2 separate regions of the Homo sapiens genome follow, and region 2 is linked to region 1. Evidence: promoter capture Hi-C in human tissues and cell types (Jung and others, 2019). All regions are on one chromosome and are shown on one strand. The core of a region is centred on a gene start or on the middle of the fragment in contact, and the rest is flanking DNA. Distances in the headings are between cores, read along the strand shown.

The links. Contacts are between HindIII fragments. The study calls those that stand out against the background at their distance.
Region 2: a contact is called between a fragment that was not itself captured here and the fragment with the promoter of BAIAP2L1 in region 1, in 2 of the 25 tissues and cell types used here (H1 embryonic stem cells and dorsolateral prefrontal cortex).

The regions. Positions count from the first base shown.
Region 1 is chr7:98,397,799-98,403,612 of GRCh38, reverse strand. It overlaps BAIAP2L1 (BAR/IMD domain containing adaptor protein 2 like 1), which reads left to right and starts at 2,523. Exons shown (of 14, transcript NM_018842.5): 1 at 2,523-2,811. The coding sequence starts at 2,761. RefSeq lists a silencer at 2,190-2,849. The HindIII fragment of the contact is 4,393 bases long and covers 1,211-5,603 here.
Region 2 is chr7:98,672,621-98,678,434 of GRCh38, reverse strand. No RefSeq gene overlaps it. Among named protein-coding and RNA genes, the nearest start is that of NPTX2, 58 kb to the right of the region's middle. The HindIII fragment of the contact is 3,848 bases long and covers 788-4,635 here.

The DNA of each region.
Region 1 (5,814 bases), core at 1,274-3,773:
GATTAGTTTAGAAGTCTCACATCTTTCTTTTTTCTTTTCTTTTCTTTTTCTTTTTTTTTTTTTTTTGAGACAAATTTTCGCTCTTGTTGCCCAGGCTGGAGTGCAATGGCGTGATCTCACTCACCACAACCTCAGCCTCCCAGGTTCAAGTGATTCTCCTGCCTCAGCCTGCTGAGTAGCTGGGATTTAGGCATGCACCATCAAACCTGGTCAATGTTGTATTTTTAGTATAGACGGGGTTTCTCCATGTTGGTCAGGCTGGTCTCAAACTCCTGACCTCAGGTGATCTGCCTGCCTCAGTCTCCTAAAGTGCTGGCATTACAGGCGTGAGCCACTGCGCCTGGCCAGAAGTCTCACATCTTAACAGCCCATAAAAGATGCAATTGCACTCACATAGACGTTTTGGCATTTTTGTTTGTTTTTTGAAACAGAGTCTCACTCTGTGGCCCAAGCTGGAATGCAGTGGCACCATCACAGCTCACTGCAACCTCTTGGGCTCAAGCCATCCTCCTACCTCAGCCTCCGGAATAGCTGGGACTACAGATGCACACTATCACACTTGGCTAATGTTTTTAATTATATTTTTTGCAGAGATGGGGGTGGGCTCCCTATATTGCCTAGGCTGGCCTCGAACTCCTAGACTCAACCAGTCCTCCTGCCTTGGTCTCCCGAAGTGCTCGGATTACAGGCATGAGCCATCCTGCCTGGCCCCCAGATAGAAGCTTTTTGTTTGTTTGTTTTTGAGACAGAGTTTCGCTCTTGTCCCTCAGGCTGGAGTGCAGTGGTGCTATCTCAGCTCACTGCAATCTCTGCCTCCCAGGTTTAAGCAATTCTCCTGCCTCAGCCTCCCGAGTAGCTGAGATTACAGGTGCACGTGCTACCATGCCTGGCTAATTTTTGTATTTTTAGTAGAGACGGGGGCAGGGCGGTTTCACCATGTTGGCTAGGCTGGTCTCGAACTCCTGACCTCAAGTGATCCGCCTGCCTTGGCCTCCCAAAGTGCTAGGATTACAGGCATGAGCCACCAAGCCCAGAGGTTTTAAAAAATCAGAATAAGACCTCTGCCCTTGTTGGGTGCGGGTCTCAGGTAGCTAAATGGTGGTTCTTACTGGGGAGAAGGCTGTCACCCAGCCCAAGGTACATAATCCTGGAAGAGAGGCCCAAAGAAGGCAGCTGCCTCACCCTTGGGCAGGGCTGAGGCCGGGATGGAGACAAAATAGGGAGCCCAGGAGCCACACACCTCCACAGAGTTTGAGTGATGACAAGAAGAGAGGCTTCCCTAACACTTCAGCTCAGGTGGTTTTCTAAACCCTACAACAATCTCGTGAGTAGCATGGTTACACTGCATTGAGTTAAAGGTCGTTGTTAATGTAAAGTTTAAAAATGTACTACTGGGCCGGGCGCGGTGGTTCAAGCCTGTAATCCCAGCACTTTGGGAGGCTGAGCAGGGCGGATCACCTGAGGTTAGGAGCTCGGGACCAACCTGGCCAACATGGTGAAACCCCGTCTCTACTAAAAATACAAAAAAATTAGCCTGGCTTGGTGGCACGTGCACCTGTAATCTCAGCTACTCGAGAGGCTGAGGCAGGAGAATTGCTTAAACCTGGGGGGCAGAGATTGCAGCAAGCTGAGAGAGCACCACTGCACTCCAGCCTGAGGGGACAAGAGTGAAACTCTGTCTCAAAAACAAACAAAAAGCTTCTATCTGGGGGCCAGGCAGGATGGCTCATGCCAGGCAGGAGAATCGCTTGAACCTGGGAAGCGGAGGTTGCAGCAAGCTGAGATCGCACCACTGCACTCCAGCCTAGGCGACAGAGTGAGACTCCATCTCAAAAAAAAAAAAGTACTAACATTTCGGTAACTAGACCCTGGCATTTATTAATTTTTTGATATATCAGGAGCTTTCAAAACTGCAAGTGGCAGCCCGTTTTCTCCACCTAGGAGGGCCGATGCCCCCACGGGTCCCTCTAACTTTTGGGGTCAGTGAGCGGCGGGGCAAGAAGAGATCAATCAGGGAAATCAATACAACTGGGGAATGTGGCCCCTTCCCTTGGTCCCCAAAACGCAGGGCTTGAAGGAAGCCCTCATGGAGGAAGTGGGCCTCGGGGTCCCCGGGGCCAGCACCACGCGAGGCAAACAAGGGCTCCAGGACCACAGTCTAAACACCCCCAGGCTGCCCTTGCCCTAGCAAAACAGCAAAGCGAGCAGCCCACTCCACACCGGTCCCCACTCCAGGGTCTCGGGCCCTACGTCGCCGGAGCTCTGGGAGAGCCGCGAGGGGGCGCACCGTGGCCTCGCTGCCCTGTCCGCCACAGGTGGGGTGACCCCGCCCACTCGGGGGGCCCGCTTCCCTCTGGCCACGCCCATTCCAGCTGCCTGGCCCCGCCTCCTCCCCGCCCACCCCGGCCGGGCCCCGCTCACCAGGCCGCCTCAGGTGGGTACGCCACGCCCCTCCGGCCCTGCGGCCCCGCCCCCGTCTGCCCCGCCCGCCTCAGGTGGGGCCGCCCGGCCCGCCCAGCTTCCTCTGGCGGCGTCCGGCCGCTTCTCCTCTGCTCCTCGAAGAAGGCCAGGGCGGCGCTGCCGCAAGTTTTGACATTTTCGCAGCGGAGACGCGCGCGGGCACTCTCGGGCCGACGGCTGCGGCGGCGGCCGACCCTCCAGAGCCCCTTAGTCGCGCCCCGGCCCTCCCGCTGCCCGGAGTCCGGCGGCCACGAGGCCCAGCCGCGTCCTCCCGCGCTTGCTCGCCCGGCGGCCGCAGCCATGTCCCGGGGGCCCGAGGAGGTGAACCGGCTCACGGAGAGCACCTACCGGGTAAGCCCAGGGCCCGGGGCTCAGGGAGGTCAGGGCTTTCCACCTCGGGGTTCAGAAGGGGACTTTACGCGGGAAGGTACTTTCCCTCCCTCCAGCTCCCCTCCCCCGCGTCCTTCCACCTCTCCCGGTCTCTCCCACTCCTCCCCTGGCCCTCCACAGCCCCTCTTCTTCCTCCCCTGGCCCTCTCCTTCCTCCCAGTCCCTCCCCATCCCCTCCCCCCTACTTTTCCTCCTCCTTCCCTCCCCTCCTCCCTGTGCTTCTTCCCTGTCTCTCTTTCCCGCCCCGCTGTACCTCTCCCTCTGCCCCTCCGCTCCCCGTTCACTCTCCCTCCTCCCCTGCCCCTCGACACTGTCCCTCCCCTCCTCCTGGTTCTTCCTTCTCCCCCGTGTGTCTCCCCCTCCTCCCCTGTCCCTTCTTCTCCCCAGTCTATCCCCCTCCCTCCCCCTCCCCCTCCCCCTCCTCTTGGTTCTTCCTCCTTCCCCGTGTGTCTCCCCCTCCTCTCCTGGCCCTTCTCCGCCTCCCCTGTCCCTTCTCCTCCCCGTCCCTTCTCCTCTTCCCTGACCCTCAGAGCTCTGGAGACCACCCCCCATCCCCTGACCAGCTACACATTTTACAACTAGTGCACTTAAGTTGGGGAGGGGTCTGTTGTGCGTCGGTGGGGCCCACGTCCTCCTCCCAACTTCTTGGAATCAGTGACCCGTGCTGTCCTGGCTGCCGGGCTTAAGCCCTCCGGGACCAAAGACACAAGCTCGAGTTTCCTCTAAGAAAAGAAAGCGCCCAAGAATGTGGGGGTGAAACTCCCCTGTAATTAGGATCGCCAGGTGAGCCGAGCTCTGGGCGTTCTCCCGGGAAACGCCCTCCTCCTTAGACCCTTCCTCTCCCACCTTTCAGTTGAACTTGGCTTTTATATATGGGTTATTTGGTGAGGTTCTTGAAGTCAAAGAACAACCGAGGTTTTAATGAAATTGACCTAACCTTAAGGAATGCGTTGATAGCCGGTCTCTTAACTTGCATGTATTAGGAGAGAATTTTTCCAGACACAGACAGAGACTTAGGATTAGTGGCCTGTTTAGTTTACATACTTACAAATGAATTCCAGGTGAAATAAGATATCTGTTAATCATCTGCTATTAATAGAACACAAAACAACTTTTGTTTTAATTCAGCCTAGGCGCTTCGAACCCTTGAAACTTTAACGTTCTCTAAGTTCATGTATAGGCATGTTTAAGGTTATAAATAAATGGTTGGTCGGTTGGTTGGTTGGTGTGTTTTATCTTTTTTCTGTCCCTGGTGCTTGAATCAGGAAGTTTAGTCATTTTGATAGACTTTTTTAAACCTAAAATTTTAGTTTCTGGGTTTTCAAGGTCTGAATTCCTAAAATCAGAGGAGTCTATTAACTTTTGTTGAATGAAAGTAAGAGAAGAACATGAACATTTTTGTTATGTATTGAAATCCAAGAGATCCGTTCCGTTTATCTTAACACACAAAGTGTATACTGTCACATATAAATTATGCCTTACAGGTAGGGAGAGTAGACACAGTTGACACAGCGTTTTTGATGCTCAGTCACTGTGACCAAAAACTCTTCTATTCGTGTGTTGCCTTCATAGAGGGCGATCTTTAGAAATTTGAGAAATTCGAAATTTGAGAAATTCCTACATTTGTATTGAGATTGCTACTATTTAAATGACCCGGAAGACGTTGCTGCATGAGGTGTGGGGTACTGACCAAGTGTGTAAATAAAACGTTCTTTCTGCCAGACTCAGACCTGGAAAGTAAGTAGTGGCTGCTCTGTTGACTGTCAGTGAAGGAAAAACTGTGTAATTGAGGAAGGCAGGCCATTGCAAATTTGAGGCAGAGTCTGATGTCCACTGGGGTGCAAAAATACAGAACACCACTGCCTTCCGCCCTTCTTCCAAGAACAGCCCTGTGTATCTTCCCAGTCTGAGCTGCGATTGCAACTTGAGACCAGCAGTCAGGTGTTCTGAGTTAAACCCTGCTTTTTTTCTCCCGCTTCTTCCTGACGTAGACTTTTAGTAATAACTCCTTAGAGGGACCGTACCAAGGCGAATTGCAGCGTCACAAATGCCAACCACTTGGGCATGTCTTATTACCCAAAGAACGGAAACGGCAGGGAAAAAGTGTGGATTTCATCATTTTGGTTATACGTATTTGTAGACGTAAGGCACTGTAAATGGAGATCAAAGACCAGTACCTGATAGTTTTCCATTGCCAGGTGTCTGAAAGCAAACTGGAAAGCTCACTAAATGTTTGTTCGTTTTAATTACTATTTCCTTGTTAGTGTTTTGGGACCTTTTTTTTTTTTAATGTCCAGGTGGTAGGATATTTACAGCATCAGACTACAAGTTTATGTAATCTATGAAATAGTGAAGGCTGCTAGCCCATGCTTTGGCTTTGGCAGTGCAAAGTGAAATTTTAATTCAGGAGTCTGAAAAACCTTTTCCCGCCCCTGTATTGGGTTCTTCCCCCTATCCAGCCCTGCCCCATGATGTTCAAGCTGAAAACAGTTTAAGCTTAATATGGCAAAAATCTGGCAGTGTTGATGAATCTAGTGCTTTTAAGAAGAGATGTCCTCTATATTACCTAACCATCTACCATATTTTACTAATAGAAATGCAACACAACCAGGTGTGTTTACAAAAGCCACCTGCAAATGATTTTTTAATGACTTGCTAGTATGGGTTTTAGTTTTTTGTTTTTAAATACTCAGGTTTCTCCAATTATGAAATAAAGGAATACTTTAGAGAAAAGGAGGAATTATAAAGTAGAATGATCCTCTGTAGCCAATATCAAATATCCTTAAATATATGCTGTGTACACATTTGCTGAAATGTCTAAAATGTATACGTAGGCAAATGATTATGGGAGATCCATGCTAACTCCCAGGAGGATGTGTGTATTTTACTACTTCATAAACGATGTTATAAGCCCCAAAATGTCCAGTAATGTTGCTGTTACTAATTAGAGTTCAGCCAAAAATCC
Region 2 (5,814 bases), core at 1,462-3,961, 270 kb before region 1:
AGCAAGCAAGAATACAAGCATGAAAATAGCAGGAATGCAAGGATGGTCTGAAGAAACCCGCCATGTGCACGGAGCCTCCCTAGGACCTCAAGTCTGCAAACTGCACAACTATACATGGCAGACCTGCTGCCCTGCTCCCCTTCTTCCCTCTGCAATGCCAGCAGTTCCACAAATCACAGGCAGGGAGCTCAACAGCCCAGGCCCAGGGAGAAATCTTGACAGCAGGGACAGCTGATGCAGACATCCAGGAAGGTCACGGTGACATCATTTTCAGAAAAAACATCAGTTGCCAGATCAGATACCAAAATCTACAGTTATAGTCTCAGCTCTTCTGGAAGGCACAGATATCGCATGTAAGAGGGTCTGGCACTAGAATACCCACTCCCGCCCCCCAGTAGTCTTCCTGACCTGGCAGTGCCCACTGTCATCACTGCACACATCACTGTCGCCCTGGGCCAATAGCCTGTGTTGGCCCAAGGGTCCCAGTGTGATTCAATGTGGAGGTCCCAGTCTTATTCAGTACAAGGGCCAGTTTGTAATATCAGAAATGTCTGGCCAGGCACAGTGGCTCACGCCTGTAATCCCAGCATTTTGGGAGGCTGAGGTGGGTGGATCACCTAAAGTCAGGAGTTCAAGACTAGCCTGGCCAATGTGGTGAAACCCCATCTCTACTAAAAATACAAAAATCAACCAGGCATGGTGTTGGGCACTTGTAGCTCCAGCTACTCAGGAGGCTGGGGCAGGAGAATCACTCGAATCCGGGATGTGGAGGTTGCCGTTGAGCCGAGATTGTGCCACTGCACTCCAGCCTGGGTGACAGAGTAAGACTCTGTCTAAAAACAACAACAACAAAGAAACGTCCACGTAGCAAGGATGGCGAGGATGTTTTGAGATACCAGTGGAGGGCAGAGAGCAGCTATGAATGAACTCAGGCAGTTTTTTGAGACAGGGTCTTGCTCTGTCAACCAGGCTGGAGTGCAGTGGTGTGATCATAGCTCACTGCAGCCTCTATTTCCCAGGCTCAAGCAATCCTCCCACCTCAGCCTTCCAAGTAGCTGGGACCACAGGTGCACGGCACCACACCTGGCTAATTTTTCTTTTCTTTTCTTTTTTTTAGAGGTAGGGTCTCGCTGCATTGCCCAGGCTGGTCTCGAACTCCTAGGCTCAAGTGATCCTCCCAATTTGGCCTCCCAAAGTGCTGGGATTACAGGTATGAGCCACAGCACCCGGCCCATGCTCATTTTTAAGACTTGGCTCCAAGGCCCAGTGTATGTGGTCTCATTTACCATTTACATGTACTCTAAGACAGGCAATATCACTATCACTCCCAGTTTACAGAAGGGGAAACTGAGGCACAGGAAGGTAAGTGGCTTGTGGATAAGGTCAAGCGGCTGTAAGTATAGAGCTGGAATCATCAGGCTGAGATGAGAAGAGACCTGGAGCATTTGAGAGGGAGGGCAGTGCTAGGAAGAAAGAGCACAGAAGACTGGGTTCAAATCCTGGCACTGACCCATGATGTGGGCTTTGGTAAGTCTATTGGCTTCTGGGTCTCAGTTGTCTCATCTGTAAAATGGGACCCTTTCATCCATCCTAATAATATTTACTGAGGACCTACTATGCACTATGATCTTTTCTACGTACTGGGGCTACAGGGCTTATCCCCTAGTGGGAGGAGAAGGATGTTATGAGACCATGTCAAGATAAGTGCTGGTAAAGAATAAAGCCTGCAGCCATAAAAAAGAATGAGTTCGTGTCCTTTGCAGGGACATGGGCGAAGCTGGAAGCCATCATTCTCAGCAAACTAACACAGGAACAGAAAACCAAACACCGCATGTTCTCACTCATAAGTAGGAGTTGAACAATGAGAACACATGGACACAGGGAGGGGAACATCACCCACCACAGCCTGTTGGAGGATGGGGGGCAAGGGGAGGGAGAGCACTGGGACAAATGTGTCATGCATGCCGGGCTTAAAACCTAGATGACAGGTTGATAGGTGCAGCAAACCACCATGGCACGTGTATACCTATGTAACAAACCTGCACATTCTGCTCATGTATCCCAGAACTGAAAGTAAAATGAAATTAAAAAAAAAAAAGGAATAAAACCATGGGGCCAGGCACAGTGGCTCATGCCTATAATCCTAGCAATTTGAGAGACTGAGATGGGAGGATCACATGAGGCTAGGAGTTCGAGTCCAGCCTGGGCAACATAGCAAGACCCTCCTCAGTATAAAAATTAAATAAATTAGCCAGGTGTGGGGGCTGCGCCTGTAGTCACAGCTACTCGAGAGGCTGAGGCAGGAGGATTGCTTGAGCCCAGAAATGTGTAGTTCGAGGCTGCAGTGAGCTATGATGGCACCATGGTGCTCCGGTCTGGGCTACAGAGTGAGACCCTGTCTCTAAAATAAAATTCTAAAAAAGAAAAAAACTATGAGAAAGGCGCAGAGGGTGAAGAGTGACTGGGTGGCTACTCTGCCTTAAGAGGTGACCCCTGCAGAGTGAGAAAGGAGGGGCTCTGGCCACAGAATTGGGAAAAGAGCATTTCTGCCCAAGGAGATGAGACAGTAGGTGCAAAGGCCCCAAGACAGGAACGATCTTGGAGGTTAATGAGAAGCTTAAACCAATGGGTCAAGTCAGGGACCTGCTAGGAGGAGGGGTGGGCTGATGGACAATTATTCCCCGGCCCAGCTTAGCCCAGACGCCTCAGAAGAGGACACCTGTGTGCCAGGCAGTAGTCCTCCAATTTCCTCCCCAAATCCAACCCCCTTAGGGGAGGCTGATTTCCCTAGAGGGCCAGCTGCTTGGTGTCAACTTGGATTGACCATTTAGGACACCGATACTCCAAATTTAATTTTTCCTTCGTGTCTCTTTCCAATTGACGAACTCTGAGTTATCTCTTTAAAAAAAATCATCCTAGAGGGGAGAAATCAGCAGACTTCAAAGCAAAATCAAGAGCTGCATTCAGCACTTGACCAGGGCTGTCTCTAACACTGGTCTGGCCCAGGGCAGTGCATGCAGTCGGTGCATTATGTATGCTCAATATGTATGAATGGCTTCACCAGGTAGGATGTCCTCTTGAGTCTCTCCTAGGCTTCCCTGCTGCTGAAGTACTGGGAAGGAGACAGGCAGCCCCAGGAGGTCACAGGACAGATGGACACTCATGACACTAAGCAGAGTGACACCAGCCAAGCCCGGTCAAGCCAGCTCCATACCATCCGTGTGCAGCGTGTGGAGTGGCATCCAGCATCTCCCACCCATTTCTGGGATACCTGTGCTTCCCCAGACATTGTATCAGCTCAAATGACCCACTCGGGACCCAAGGGCTGAGCTGCGCCTGCACAGGGCCCTGGGACATGCCCACGTGACCTCCCCAAAGCCCGGGACTGATAGGGCTCGTTGGAGACCAGCCCCAAGCAGAACAGCCATGGGGGGTCCCCATGGGGATCTTGTCCACTCTCCTCCTTGTGGACCACGACCCTTGGAGGCTCTCAGAGGCACCTGGGCTGGTTAAACAAGGGCTGGAACCTCCTTTCTGCAGAAATCTGTCTGCTTGACCTTCCCAGTTTTCATCCCCATGGGACACCAGGAACTGGGGCATCTCCTGCTGCAGCCCCCAGTTCCAAGGTGAAGCCAGCTCAAGTGCTGGTCCCAGCTCTCAACATCTGCATATTCACCTCGGAGCCCCGGCCTCCAGCCTCCAGCTTCCATCCGCTTTCTGTATGCTTAACAGCCAAAACAATGCATCACAGAAGTGGGTGGGGTGGGGAGAGGGTGCCAGCTCCACCAGGGAGAGGGCAGCAGGTGAAAATCTGAGTCATTCCAGTTCTGGGAAGTCTCCATCCTCGCTTGTCTCCGCAGAATCACAACCTCACATGGGCAGAGCAGGGCCCTGACTGTGGTCCTGTAAGCTTCCTGGTCGACCTCCCTCCTTCTCGGTTTATTCCGCCTGATGGGCTCTTCTGACTGGCTCCAAAGAAAACAGGTTAGCAATTTCCACCCTCTTCAGCCTCAGGACTCTTGAAGTAAAACTTTAAGCTACCTCCGCAGGGATGGTAGAATATATTTTGGGATATATTACTGTATAATTTGGGATAGTTCAGTAATTTTCCAGAACGACATTAACTGGGGCTGTGCTAGCCTTTTTATGTAAATATTGTTTCCCTATTATAATAATTACAATGAGATTTACCATTTATTAAACACTTACTGTATTCTAGGCACTGCAACCCTGGGAGGGAGATACTGTTATTGCCCTCATTTTCCAACTGAATAAACTGAAGTTCTAATAAATAAAGTGTGCAAAGTCATGTTCTAAGTGGTATTGCCAAATCTGCCTGTCTCTGGCAGACGGCAAGGATTGGATGCCCAGTGCCATTTCCAGCTCCCTTTTCCTTACCTTCCTCTTCTAGACATGATAGAAACCTTAACTTGCCAGACTTCCTTGCAGCTAGATGTGGCCAACTGAACAGTTTGGGCCATGAAGATGTAAGCCAAAAAGGCAGAGGCTTTGGAACAGATTCAGCCAATCAGATTTCTTCCTTTATTCTGCCTGGAATACAGATATGATGTCTGGAGGCATAGCAACTATTCTGTGGCCATGAGGCAATCAGTTCCACATGCCAAGGATGGCAGAGAAAGGAGGTAGAAGTAATCTGGGTTTTGATGACATCAATGTATTCTCTTCCCCCTGGTCATTATTGCATGAGGCAAATAAACTTATTTAATATAACATTCATTGGGTTTTTTGTTTCTCACAGGCAAATACCATTGATATAGTTTGGATATGTGTCCCCTCCAAATCTCATCAAAATGTGATTCCTAATATTGGAGATGGGGTCTTGTGGGAGGTGTCTGGGTCCTTAGGGTCAATTCCTCATGAATGGCTTGGTGCTGTCCTTGCCGTAATGAGTGAGCTATTGCTGTGTTGCTTACCATGAGATCTGATTGTTAAAAGGAGCCTGGGGCCAGGAACAGTGTTTCACACCTGTAATCCCAGCACTTTGGGAGGCCAAGACAGGCAGGTCTCTTGAGGTCAGGAATTCATGACCAGCCTGGCCAACAAGGCAAAACCCCATCTCTACTAAAAATACAAAAATTAGCCAGGTGTGGTGGCAGGCTCCTGTAATTCAAGCTACTTGGGAGGCTGAGGCAGGAGAATCTCTTGAACCCAAGAGGCAGAGGTTGCAGTGAGCTGAGATCGTGCCATTGCACTCCAGCCTAGGTGACAGAGTAAGACTCTGTCTCAAAAAAAAAAAAAAAAAAAAAAAAAGGAGCTAGGCATCTCCTTTTCTCTCTCTCGCTCCCTCTCTTGCCATGTGACATGCCTGCACTGCCTTTGCCTTCTGCCATGATTGGAAGCTTCCCGAGTATCCTTATAAGAAACACATGCTGGCACCATGCTTCCTGTGCAGCTTGCAGAACCATGAGCCAAAACAAACCTCTTTTCTTTATAAATTACCCAGCCTTGGGTATCTCTTTATAGCAAGGCAAATGGACTAACACAGCCATCGTAACTGAGACCTGACCTCCAAAGTCCATGGTGTTGGCACAATTTGGGGGCTGCCCATTGATCAGGGTGCTTTGGGCCGGGCCTTGGGAAACAGCATTAGAATGAACCTTGATTTGTCAAAAGCCAAGGATTCGTACCCACAAACACCACTGGAGTGTCCAGAGAGTTTCAAGGGTGGCAGCAAGCATTTCCTCAGTGGGCCAAAATCGTCACTTTTGTTTCAAAGACTTTGAGATTCCCCCATGAGTAGCTACTTCCCACAGAACTGGGGGCTCCTGCTTGGAGCACAGTCACGCCACAAAT